Linked DNA regions of Homo sapiens: regions 1 and 2 are each linked to region 3. The links are contacts of gene promoters, found by promoter capture Hi-C in human tissues and cell types (Jung and others, 2019). All regions are on one chromosome and are shown on one strand. The core of a region is centred on a gene start or on the middle of the fragment in contact, and the rest is flanking DNA. Distances in the headings are between cores, read along the strand shown. Region 1 has its middle 37 kb from the start of ZSCAN5A. Region 2 holds the start of LINC01864 (long intergenic non-protein coding RNA 1864). Region 3 holds the start of ZSCAN5B (zinc finger and SCAN domain containing 5B).

Region 1 (3,315 bases), core at 48-2,547, 150 kb before region 3:
CTCAAGGGAAAATTAACAGTGACTGCAGACATTTTGAGTTATCACACTTGAGTATGCTACTGACTCCAGTGGGCAGGGGCCAGGGATGCAGCTAAACATCCTACAATGCACAGGACAGCCCTCTTCCCCCTGAAAATGTATTATGTGGCCCACAATGTCTGTAGTGTAATAGATCGAAACACTGCCATCTGGCAAAGACCTTCTCCTCGACCAGACTTGACTTGGGCTTCCCTGAGTCCTCTTCCTGACTAGGCCTGGACTTTGGACATCTGTGTTGAAACTGTGTTGCACCCAGTTTCAACAAGGGTAATGAGAATCCCCCCATCCTTGATACCTGATCAGATTTCCCATGTTCCACTCTTAATGTCTAAATCTTTGGCCTGCCTTTAGCAAGGATTCTGCTCCTGATACCTAATCAAGTTGTTCTTTGTAATTTCCCACCCACTGACCGCCTTACTTTGATAATTGTCTACAAAAAACCAACTATCATTGCTATATTCAGAGTTGGGTCTCTCTCCCCTGTTGCAATTGTCTTGAATATTCTTCCTCACCATTTACCCAAGTGTCAGAATATTTTTTCTTTTACATCTAACAGTCTCACATTCACGCTCAGCATCTAAGGATAAATGTTTATTTTTTCACCGAAATTCTTTCAATAATCAGTCCCTTCTAACCATCCTGCATGATCACTTAAATCTGCCTTAGCTTCTGTGGGATCTCATGTCTCTCTCTGTCTCTACAGTGCCCCAGTAATCACATTCATTTGCATTATGTTTAATTGTCTGGTTTAATCCGTCTCTCTGAGTAGAAGCTTTGTTAAAACACCACACTATCGGCGCCTGTAGTCCCAGCTACTTGGGAGGCTGAGGCAGGAGAATGGCGTGAATCCAGGAGGCGGAGCTTGCAGTGAGCTGAGATCGTGCCACTGCACTCCAGCCTGGGTGACAGAGCGAGATTCCGTCTCAAAAACAAAGAAACAAACAAACAAAAAAACCCCACACTATCCACCAAAGCATACCCAAGCGCAGGGCATAAAGAAGGCACTCCATCAGTATCTTCACCGCATCCCTTCCTGAGTTTCGGGTCCCACTTCCCTACCTGACTTTGGGTAAGAAAGTGTAATGACATCTTCATCCCGCAACACAATTTCATCTTGCAAACGTCTCAGGTCTGTAAAATTATTGCTGGGAAAAGGAATCCCTTCAATCCAGATAGATCCACCAGCCATCTAAAGAAACACCACAGTCTTCCCAGGTTCGTATTCGCTGCACCTGTGCAATCTTAGCGGCACCACTTTTCTTGTTCTGCGACAGGTTAAGATGCAAAGGATGGAGACATTGGGACAGAGCAGCCCAAGTTCATTTTGATACAGCTCCGATGACTGGACGATTACCAGGCTTTTTGGTCTGGTGCTGATAGGATTAACGACATGGACACATGTGGAGTAGTTTTAAGGAGTGAAAAGTTTAATAGCAAGTAAGAAGGAAGAAAGAAGAGAACAGCTCCCCCGTACTGAGACATGGGAAAGGAACAGAGATAGACCCTGTGCGCAACAGAAAGACAGTCCCTTATATCTGGAGGCTGGAGGAGGCAGTATCTGGTTTGCATAGGGCCCAAAGGATTGGCTTGACCAGGTGTGTTATTCATGTAGCCTGGGAGAAACCAGGCCCTCCCGCCATAGCCTTTTAATATGCAAATGTGGGTTGCCATGATGGTTTGAACACATGGTGTTACTTGGAGGTGGCCTTCACACTTTGCACAGGTGGTAACAAGGAGAAGACGGTGGGAATCACCATGTTGAGTGGACCCAGTTTCTAGTGGCCAGCATTTGCATATCAAAGCTTGTCAGCCCGGCCCTTGAAGCCGCCTTTTTGGTTAGAAAAGAGATTGCTTGGTTAGAAAAGAGATTTCTTATTACAGGAAAATTTTCACCAAGAACCTTTACCCTTACTGTATGCCTAAAATGATTTCTTAATAACTCCTGTAATATCCCCCCCTCAAAGAGAAGTAAACCTAACTGCTGTTAGGGGGTGTTAGATGATGATTCTTTCTGGGTACTGTCTGCTGAAAAGGGGCGTGTGGTTGGGGGGGGACAGCAATTGGGCCTTCTCCTGTGGTTGATCTGAGGTTCTCAGAAGAATGGCATGTCTGTGTGTGGCTCAGCTCACAGCACCATTTAAAGTTTAATTGCTTCTATTAAACTTTATTTAATGTTTTATTAAATAAAACATTATTTAATAAAATATTAAAATATTAAACTTTATTTGATTTAAGGTGAAAAAATATAAATTTTACAAGAAGATTTAAAATGTAGGGTTAGGATACAATTATTAAAATTACCACCGTTAGTGGGGGGCCCTGTTAGACCATAACTGACAGTAGAGTTTGACACCTTTTAGTTACACCAATGGATTGCAATACTGGCTTGCCTCCACTAGATGTCGGTGTACATTACCAGAAACGTTAATATAGCGGTAACTTTTTCCTAGAGAAAAGCGGACATTTCCCCCTTAATCTGCCGTTAGAGAATAACTTTAGGCCTAGGCCATTTTTACAACTTGCAATATGATTGGGAGAAAGACATTATTGGGTGGCTAAAATAACTTTAGCGTTAATTTTGACAATTCCTTTCCTTTAATTACTAAATTCTTTTATGACTTTTATAAACCTTCTTACAACACCTTTACACTTTTTGATTTGTCCTAAACATCCTTTCTTTAAACAACCGGTTATTTCCCTTTAGTACAAGAATTTACCATACAAAATCCTTCCGTACATAAAATCTCTTCCTTTATAACCTTTTCATAGTGTGTATTATATTACCAACCTTTAGTAAAAAGTCTTTTCAAACTTAGTGATGGTATAACTTTCATGCTTCTTATCCATAACTATTAGTCCTGCTATAAGCAAAACAACCTTGACTAAATTTTTCCTGCAATTATTAATCCTGTTATAAGGATGATAATCTGGCAAAATATTACAGCAATTAGAATTTTACAACCAGAATTCCACATTGTGAGTGCCACAGCGTTTAGTTCTATTGCAAATAGTAGCTTGACTAGAACAATTTTCACAAGAGTGGCATAGTAAATAATTTTCATTTAAAACTTTACTTGCCAAGACATAACATGTCCCTTTGGGGATTTACAAAGTTACAAATATGATTCTATGAATAATTAAATCTCTCTGCAAATATGCATTAAAAAGAAGTTCTAATATTTGGCAGTGAACTTTGAGAGGAAAGTTTAGAAATAATAAAAAGTATTTGATAAGGTAGGAGTGGGACTGAGTAAGATGCGTAGCCCTCACTCAGTT
Region 2 (3,693 bases), core at 102-2,601, 130 kb after region 3:
CCCAAGCAGCTGGGATTACAGGCGCCTGCCACCATACCCAGCTAAATTTTTTGTTTTTAATACAGATGGGGTTTCACCACATTGGCCAGGCTGATCTTGAACTCCTGACCTCAAGTGACCCACCCACCTTGGCCTCCCAAATTGCTGGGATTATAGGCGTGAGCCACCACACCCTGCCAGGTTTCTAAGATATTTTCAGGCTAATGAAAACTTCACAAGCCCTGGATACTGTGCTGATAACACCCCCTGCATAAAAGTACAGCCCTGAGCTCTCTCCACTCTGCAAACCACATCTTCCACTTTCACTAATAAATTTCCAGCCTAATTTCCTGCCTTTTAACTGCTTTATTTCCTCAGGAATTCTGAATCAGATCTCAGATGGAGGCAACTATATTGGTTCATCATTTTTTGCTTTTTAAAAAATAATTTACAAACCATGGAATTCACCCATTTTAAGGTGTACAATTAAATAATGCTTTAGTATATTCACATAGTTGTACGTCTATCACTCCAAAAGGAAACCCCGTGCCAGGAAGAGTCACTCATTCCCTGCTCCTCTCCCAGCCCTGGGCAAACTCTCATCTTGTGTCTCTGTGGATTTCCCTCTTCTGGTCATTTCATATCAATGGAATCATACAAGTGGCCTTTTGTATCTGGCTTCTTTACAGTGGATAATGTTTATGAGGTTGATCCATGTTGTAGCACGTATCGCTACTATATTCCTTTATTCCTTTTTTTTTTAAATTGAGATGGAGTCTTACTTTGTTGCCCAGGCTGGAGTGCAGTGGTGCCATCTCGGCTCACTGCAACCTCCGCCTCCTGGGTTCAAGTGATTCTCCTGCCTCAGCCTCCTGCGTACCTGGGATTACAGGTACACGCTATTACCCTGGGCTAATTTTTGTATTTTTAGTAGAGACGAGGTTTCACTATGTTGGCCAGGCTGGACTTGAACCCCTGACCTCAGGTGACCTGCCTGCTGCAGCCTCCCAAAGTGCTAGAAGTACAGGAATGAGCCACTGCACCTGTTGTTTTTTTTTTTTTTTTAATGAGACAGGGTTTCACTCTGTCACCCAAGCTGGAGACTGCAGTGGTACAATCTCGGTTCACTGCAGCCTTGACCTCCCAGGCTCAAGTGATCCTCCCACCTCAGCCTCCCAACGGGCTGAGACTATAGGCTTGTACCGCCATACCTATTTAATTTTTAGTATTTCTAGTAGTGACGGGGTTTCGCCATGTTGCACAGGCTGGTCTCAAATTCCTGGGTTCAAGTGAGCCTCCCAACTCAGCCTCCCTAAGTGCTGGGATTACAGGCATGAACCACTGTACCCAGCCTGCATTCTTTTTTTCATGGCTGAATAATATTTCATTGTGTGGATAGACCACATTTTGTTTACCCATTCATCTGCTGATAGACACGTGGGTTGTCTGCACCTTTTGGCTGTTGTGAACAAGGATACCTACTTCATCTCTTACCTTGGTCACAGGCGGCCTACAGGTCATTAGGCAGCTTAAAGACTGGCTGTTCTTCAAACGCTAGCTCCTGGTCCAGTCAGCTGCAATGGAGGCCAGCTGCTTGGGTCATTCATCCAGGACCCCGGCTCAGAATGGCTTTGCACTCAGTATAGTGACTCACAGTCATCTTGAAATTCTTAATTTTTGAACAAAGCACCCACATTTTCATTTTACACCTGGGCCTCCAGATAATCTTGGTTGATTCCATTTTGACAATGGGGAATAAAGCTAAAGAACAAACCTACATTCTTGGGTGTCTGCTAAGCAGCTGTCACCTCCAATAGAACCAACAAGTGGCTGATACCTTCTGAGCAGGGCTGACACGGATTTCCTGTGAGCCAGTCGCGTCCGGCGAGGGGAAGGGGAGGCCGCTGGGTGTGCTGGTGAGGGAGGGCTCCCTGCTTCCCGTGGACCAGCGGGTCTCAGGCTGGTGCCCCGGGTAACATCCGGCTGTGTCTGAAGACTTTCTTGGTTGTCACAACTGCGGGAGGGAAGGCACCTGGCAGGTAAAAGCAGGGACGTCACTGAACACCCTACAGCCCACAGGCGGGACCCCGATGTGGAAGTGGCCGGTCCCACCGTCAGCAGTGCCTGCGGTGAGAAAATCCACAGTGGGGATGCGGGGAGGAGCCCGCCCTGCTCCCGGGAGGGTCTCAGGGAAGATGACGCTCTGCTGCCACCCAGCGGCCATCAGGGGAAACTCAACCAGGGAGCTGGCGTCCCGCGGGGTTCACTGACCCTGGAATTGCCTTCCCAGGAAGCTTCTACGCAGTGATCTCAGGTGGACGTTCTGTGCCATGCAGCTCAAAGCATCAGAGTTTGTGCGGCTCCACACACACCCCAGCTACAGCGTGGCTGGCAGGTGGAGGTGAATTCTCTATCGTTTGACTCACGGGTGAGGAAAGGGTCCTTCCTCATAGAGATAAGAGCCCAGATCAGCAGGGAGACAGCGCTCCCACCTGTCCTACCCACGATGTGATGCACCAGGCAGCGGGGGCCTGGGACTCCCCACGGTTGCCCTCCAGGACCGGGTCCGTTGCCTTCCTGATGCTCTTCCCTCCCCGTGGTACAAATGTTAAAAACAAACAACAAGACAAAACGAAAAACTATGTAGGAAGGGTACATTTTCATGGTATGTCATGTCCCAAACTTGACGAAAAACCAGCAGTGCAGAAAAAAGTTTTTCTCAGACCTCAAAGATAGCTAGTCTAGAAAAATAGAATAGTCCTAGTCTCTTGCGAACCTGCCATTTTAGCTGTGAGAACAGCTGCAATTCATGCATTTGTCCTTCATTAGAAGGTAATACATTTTAGGAGAACAGGGATCTTTGTCCTGCACTATCAGCCTGAGGGCAGCGGCCAGCACATAGGGTTATAGGGTTTATACAGACTCATCATTACTTCATCCTCTACGTTTAGGAATTTAGAATAAGAAACAAGGAGTTGGGTAGAAATCAAGGTATCATCCCTATTATTCAAAGCTCTGAGGCCAGGCTGGGTATGGTCACTCACACCTGTAATCCCAGTGCTTTGGGAGGATAAGGCGGGTGGATCAACTGAGGTCAGGAGTTCGAGACCAGCCTGGCCAACATGGAGAAACCCCATCGCTACTAAAAATACAAAAACTAGCCAGGCGTGGTGGCGGGTACCTGTAGTCCCCACTACTCAGGAGGCTGAGGCATGAGAATTGCTTGAACCCGGGAGGCGGAGGTTGCAGCGAGCCTAGATTGTACCATTGCAACCCAGCCTGGGTGACAAGAGCAAAACTGTCTCAAAAAAAAAAAAAAAAAAAAAAAAAAAAAAAAACACCAACCCCCGTCCCCCCGCCCGCCACCACACACACACACAGACTCTGAGGCAAGTGGTCTGTATCTGCAGCCTCCTAGCACTTCGCCACAATCAGTATTCCGCCCACCCATCCCACCCTCAGCAAAGCTTGCTGCATGAAAGAGGAAAGTGTGTACACATCTGGAGACAGGAGGCTTGTGAAGAGCACTTAGAAGGTCCAGTTCCTCCCTCCTAGCCGTAGCACCTGGGTAACTCCCTCTACCCTTGGAAATGGCCAAGAGGCTCAAGAGAAAGAAACTCTTTTCCAACAGGCAGCAGTGAGTAGAACACAGCTTTCTGCCAGTGTGGAGTAGTGCATCAGATTCTAGGCGGTTTCATGATCCTCATCCTGGTG
Region 3 (3,294 bases), core at 438-2,937:
CATCTACAGATTCAATGCGATCCCTACCAAAATACCAACAACATACTTCACAGAAATAGACTGTGAGTTTCCAGAGGGGAGGATTCGGGGGAAGCAGATAGGAAGATGGTGGTTTAGGCAGCTCCCAGTTAATTCCAGTGAATAATTCCTTTTTTTTTTTTTTGAGACGCTGTCTCGGTCTGTCGCCCAGGCTGGAGTGCAGTGGTGTGATCTCCGCTCACTGCAAGTTTCGCCTCCCGGGTTCATGCCATTCTCCTGTCTCAGCCTCCCGAGTAGCTGGGACTACAGGCACCTGCCACCACGCCTGGCTACTTTTTTGTATTTTTCGTAGAGACGGGGTTTCACCGTGTTAGCCAGGGTGGTCTCGATCTCCTGACCTCGTGATCCGCCCGCCTCGGCCTCCCAAAGTGCTGGGATTACAGGCGTGAGCCTCCGCGCCCGGCCATTAATTCCATTCTTAACTCCAACCCATTGTCAACACCTCAGTGGTTAAGAAGGGAAAATATCACAAAGTATGAGAAAATGCACCAGAAAATAATTGTCACAACTGTTTGGCAAAATGACCTTGTATCGAGCACTTTATTGACCCAGTCTTATTGCATCTTCAAAACAACACATCAGGAAGGTTCTAGTCACAAGAAGTTTGAAGTTCCCAGAGTGAAGCGGCTTAAGATTTTCCAAGGATTTAAACCAGAATCAGTGTAAAATTAACAGCCCTCCAATTTGTCCTAAAGGTTAGACGAGAAGGTTTCCTCTGAAATTAAAATGAATGAGTCACTACTTGAATGGATTAGTGTCATCCAACTGATGGTGTGAACTTCCCAAATTGTAATCTAATCCTGCCTAGCACTTAATTATCATTCCACATTAACTCCATGATCCACACAGTAAAATTCACACCCACCGTTAAGGCTTTTCTTGCTTGAGAGCCCTAACTGAGGGGGCTGAGAACTAGGGAACCCCGTAGGACCCTCAGTGTATCTATAAACCACCCTATCACCGTCCTGGAATGAATGCAGAGTGGGGACCATGTGCCTTTCTCTGGTTCCCACTGCTTTTATATAAGGCTGATATCAAATCAGTGATTTAGTTTAGTTTGAACAAAGCTTTCACATGCCAATTCCAAGATTTTGAAAAAAATAAAAAAGTAAAAAATTATCACAAACATTCATTACATATCAACGAGTGTCCACAATTTTCAACATCTTGGAATTCGCGTGTGAAAGCTTCGCTCAAATGAGATTAAAAATGAGATTAAATCACTGGTTTGATATTAATCAACCAACTCTATTTTGAATTTTTCTTTTTTTTTTCTTTTTCCGTTTTGTTTTAATAAGCGAAGTCAACCAGCTCTTAACACGTCCTTTACTTGTTAGGATATTACTGTCTGTGGCATGAGGGGACCCAAAGTGGTTAAAACTTGCAGATCTATATTTTCTGAGGCCTCCACATACTTCAGCAATATGACAACTCAGTAGAGCGGGAAAACCTGTATTATTTGCACAGTAGGCACGTTTAATACATTAATTTCCTGTGGGTGGGGTTTCAGTGGGAAATGTAATCAACGCCGATTACGAAAATGGACTCTGTGGCCCTAAACCAATCACGGCGCGGCGCAGGGAACCGGAAACGCGGCCTGGAGTCCCGCTTCTCCATAAATAGACGCAGTTCAGCTCCAGGCCGGTTGGAGAGCGCATCCCAGACCGAGAAGGTCGGAGGCAGAAGCCGGGAAGGAGGTGAGTGTCCAGCGGCGATGGCTGTGGGGTTTCGGAGCTGGCATGCGGGGGGTTGGTTTCAGAAAGTTTGGGTTTATTTTCTCATGCATTTATTTTCTCGGAGACTTTGTGAAGGCAGCGGGTCTCCTTTGCACCCCATGATTAACTCTGACTGGCGATGAAGTGCTTCTGTAAACTAGGAATAATATTAACTTTCTCGGTCGGGCCCAGTGGCGCACGCCTGTAATCCCAGCTACTCTGGAGGCCGAGGTGGGCAGATCACGGGATCAGGAGTTCAAGACCAGTCTGACCAACATGGTGAAACCCCGACTCTAACAAAAATACAAAAATTAGCCGGGCGTGGTGGCGGGCGCCCGTAATACCCGCTATTCAGGAGACTGAGTCAGGAGAGTCGTTTGAACCCAGGAGGCAGAGGTTAGGGTAATACCCGCTATTCGGGAGACTGAGTCAGGAGAGTCATTTGAACCCAGGAGGCAGAGGTTGCAGTGAGCCGAGGTCGCGCCATTGCACTCCAGCCTGGGTAACAAAGCAAAACTCCGTCTCAAAAAAAAAAAAAGGAGAAAAATAAAGTAATAATGTTAACTTTCTCATCATGGTTAGGTTTTGTTTCATTTTATTTTTCAGAGACGGGGTCTCGCTCATTTCCCAGGCTGGCCTGGAACTCCCAGGCTCAAGCTATGTGCCCTCCTCGGCCTCCACCTAGCTGGGGCTGCAGGAGCACACCACCACACCGCCCGAGTGCATTTTTTTATTTACTATAGAGACGTGGTCTCGCTGCTTTGCCCAGTCTGGTCTCGAACTCCTCGGCTCAAGCAATCTGCCCGCCTCAGCCTCGATCTCCGCTTTCTGAGCAGGGGCGCTTAGGGAACCTGGCGGGAAAACCTCTTTAATTCCCAGAATTTCAGGCTGCCTTTTCTCATATCTGTATGCTTTTAAAAAATGTATCGATTTACTTAATAAATAAACAAAACGAGATGGCCGCTGGATGTGTCTCCCAGGCTGGAGCACAGTGGCACAATCGCGGTTCACTGCTGGGCTGAAGTGATCCTGCCACCTCCGCCTCCCAGAGCACTGGGGTGACAGGAGTGAGCCATCGCACCAGGCCTAATTTACTTTCAAATTGAGAAATATAAATATATAATGGTGTATATGTCCGGTGCACAGCATAGTGTGTCAAGGTGTGTACGCATTGTGCAACGGCTAAATCGAGCAAACTGCCATAGGCTCTACCTCACTGTCTTATCATTTTTGGACAACACTTGAAATCGACTCCCTTAGCAATTTCCAAGTATACGGTACATTGCTGTGAACTATAGTCACCATGCTGTGCAGTAGACCTATTTAACTTTATTTCTTTTATTTTTTTAAAAAAAAGTTTTAATGGCCAGGTGCGGTGGCTCACACCTGTAATCCCAGCACTCTGGGAGGCCGAGGCATAGGGATCACTTGAGTTCAGGAGTTTGAGACCAGCCTGGCCTACATGGCGAGACCCCATCTCTACTAAAAATACAAAATTTAGCCGAGAGGGGTGGCTCACGCCTATAATCCCAGCTACTCG

The links. The method cuts DNA at HindIII sites, captures the fragments that hold promoters and counts their contacts. A contact is called where the count stands out against the background at its distance.
Region 1: a fragment that was not itself captured here is called in contact with the fragment with the promoter of ZSCAN5B in region 3 in 2 of the 25 tissues and cell types used here (H1 embryonic stem cells and pancreas).
Region 2: a fragment that was not itself captured here is called in contact with the fragment with the promoter of ZSCAN5B in region 3 in 4 of the 25 tissues and cell types used here (liver, neural progenitor cells, spleen and 1 more).

Annotation. Positions count from the first base shown.
Region 1 is chr19:56,349,769-56,353,083 of GRCh38, reverse strand. It overlaps a transcript of ZSCAN5A not described here. Among named protein-coding and RNA genes, the nearest start is that of ZSCAN5A, 37 kb to the right of the region's middle. The HindIII fragment of the contact is 3,268 bases long and covers 1-2,931 here.
Region 2 is chr19:56,065,099-56,068,791 of GRCh38, reverse strand. It overlaps LINC01864 (long intergenic non-protein coding RNA 1864), which reads right to left and starts at 2,108. Exons shown (of 4, transcript NR_110741.1): 1 at 1,817-2,108. The HindIII fragment of the contact is 3,019 bases long and covers 1-2,860 here.
Region 3 is chr19:56,196,176-56,199,469 of GRCh38, reverse strand. ZSCAN5B (zinc finger and SCAN domain containing 5B) reads left to right here and starts at 1,687. Exons shown (of 5, transcript NM_001080456.5): 1 at 1,687-1,736. The HindIII fragment of the contact is 13,117 bases long and covers 1-3,294 here.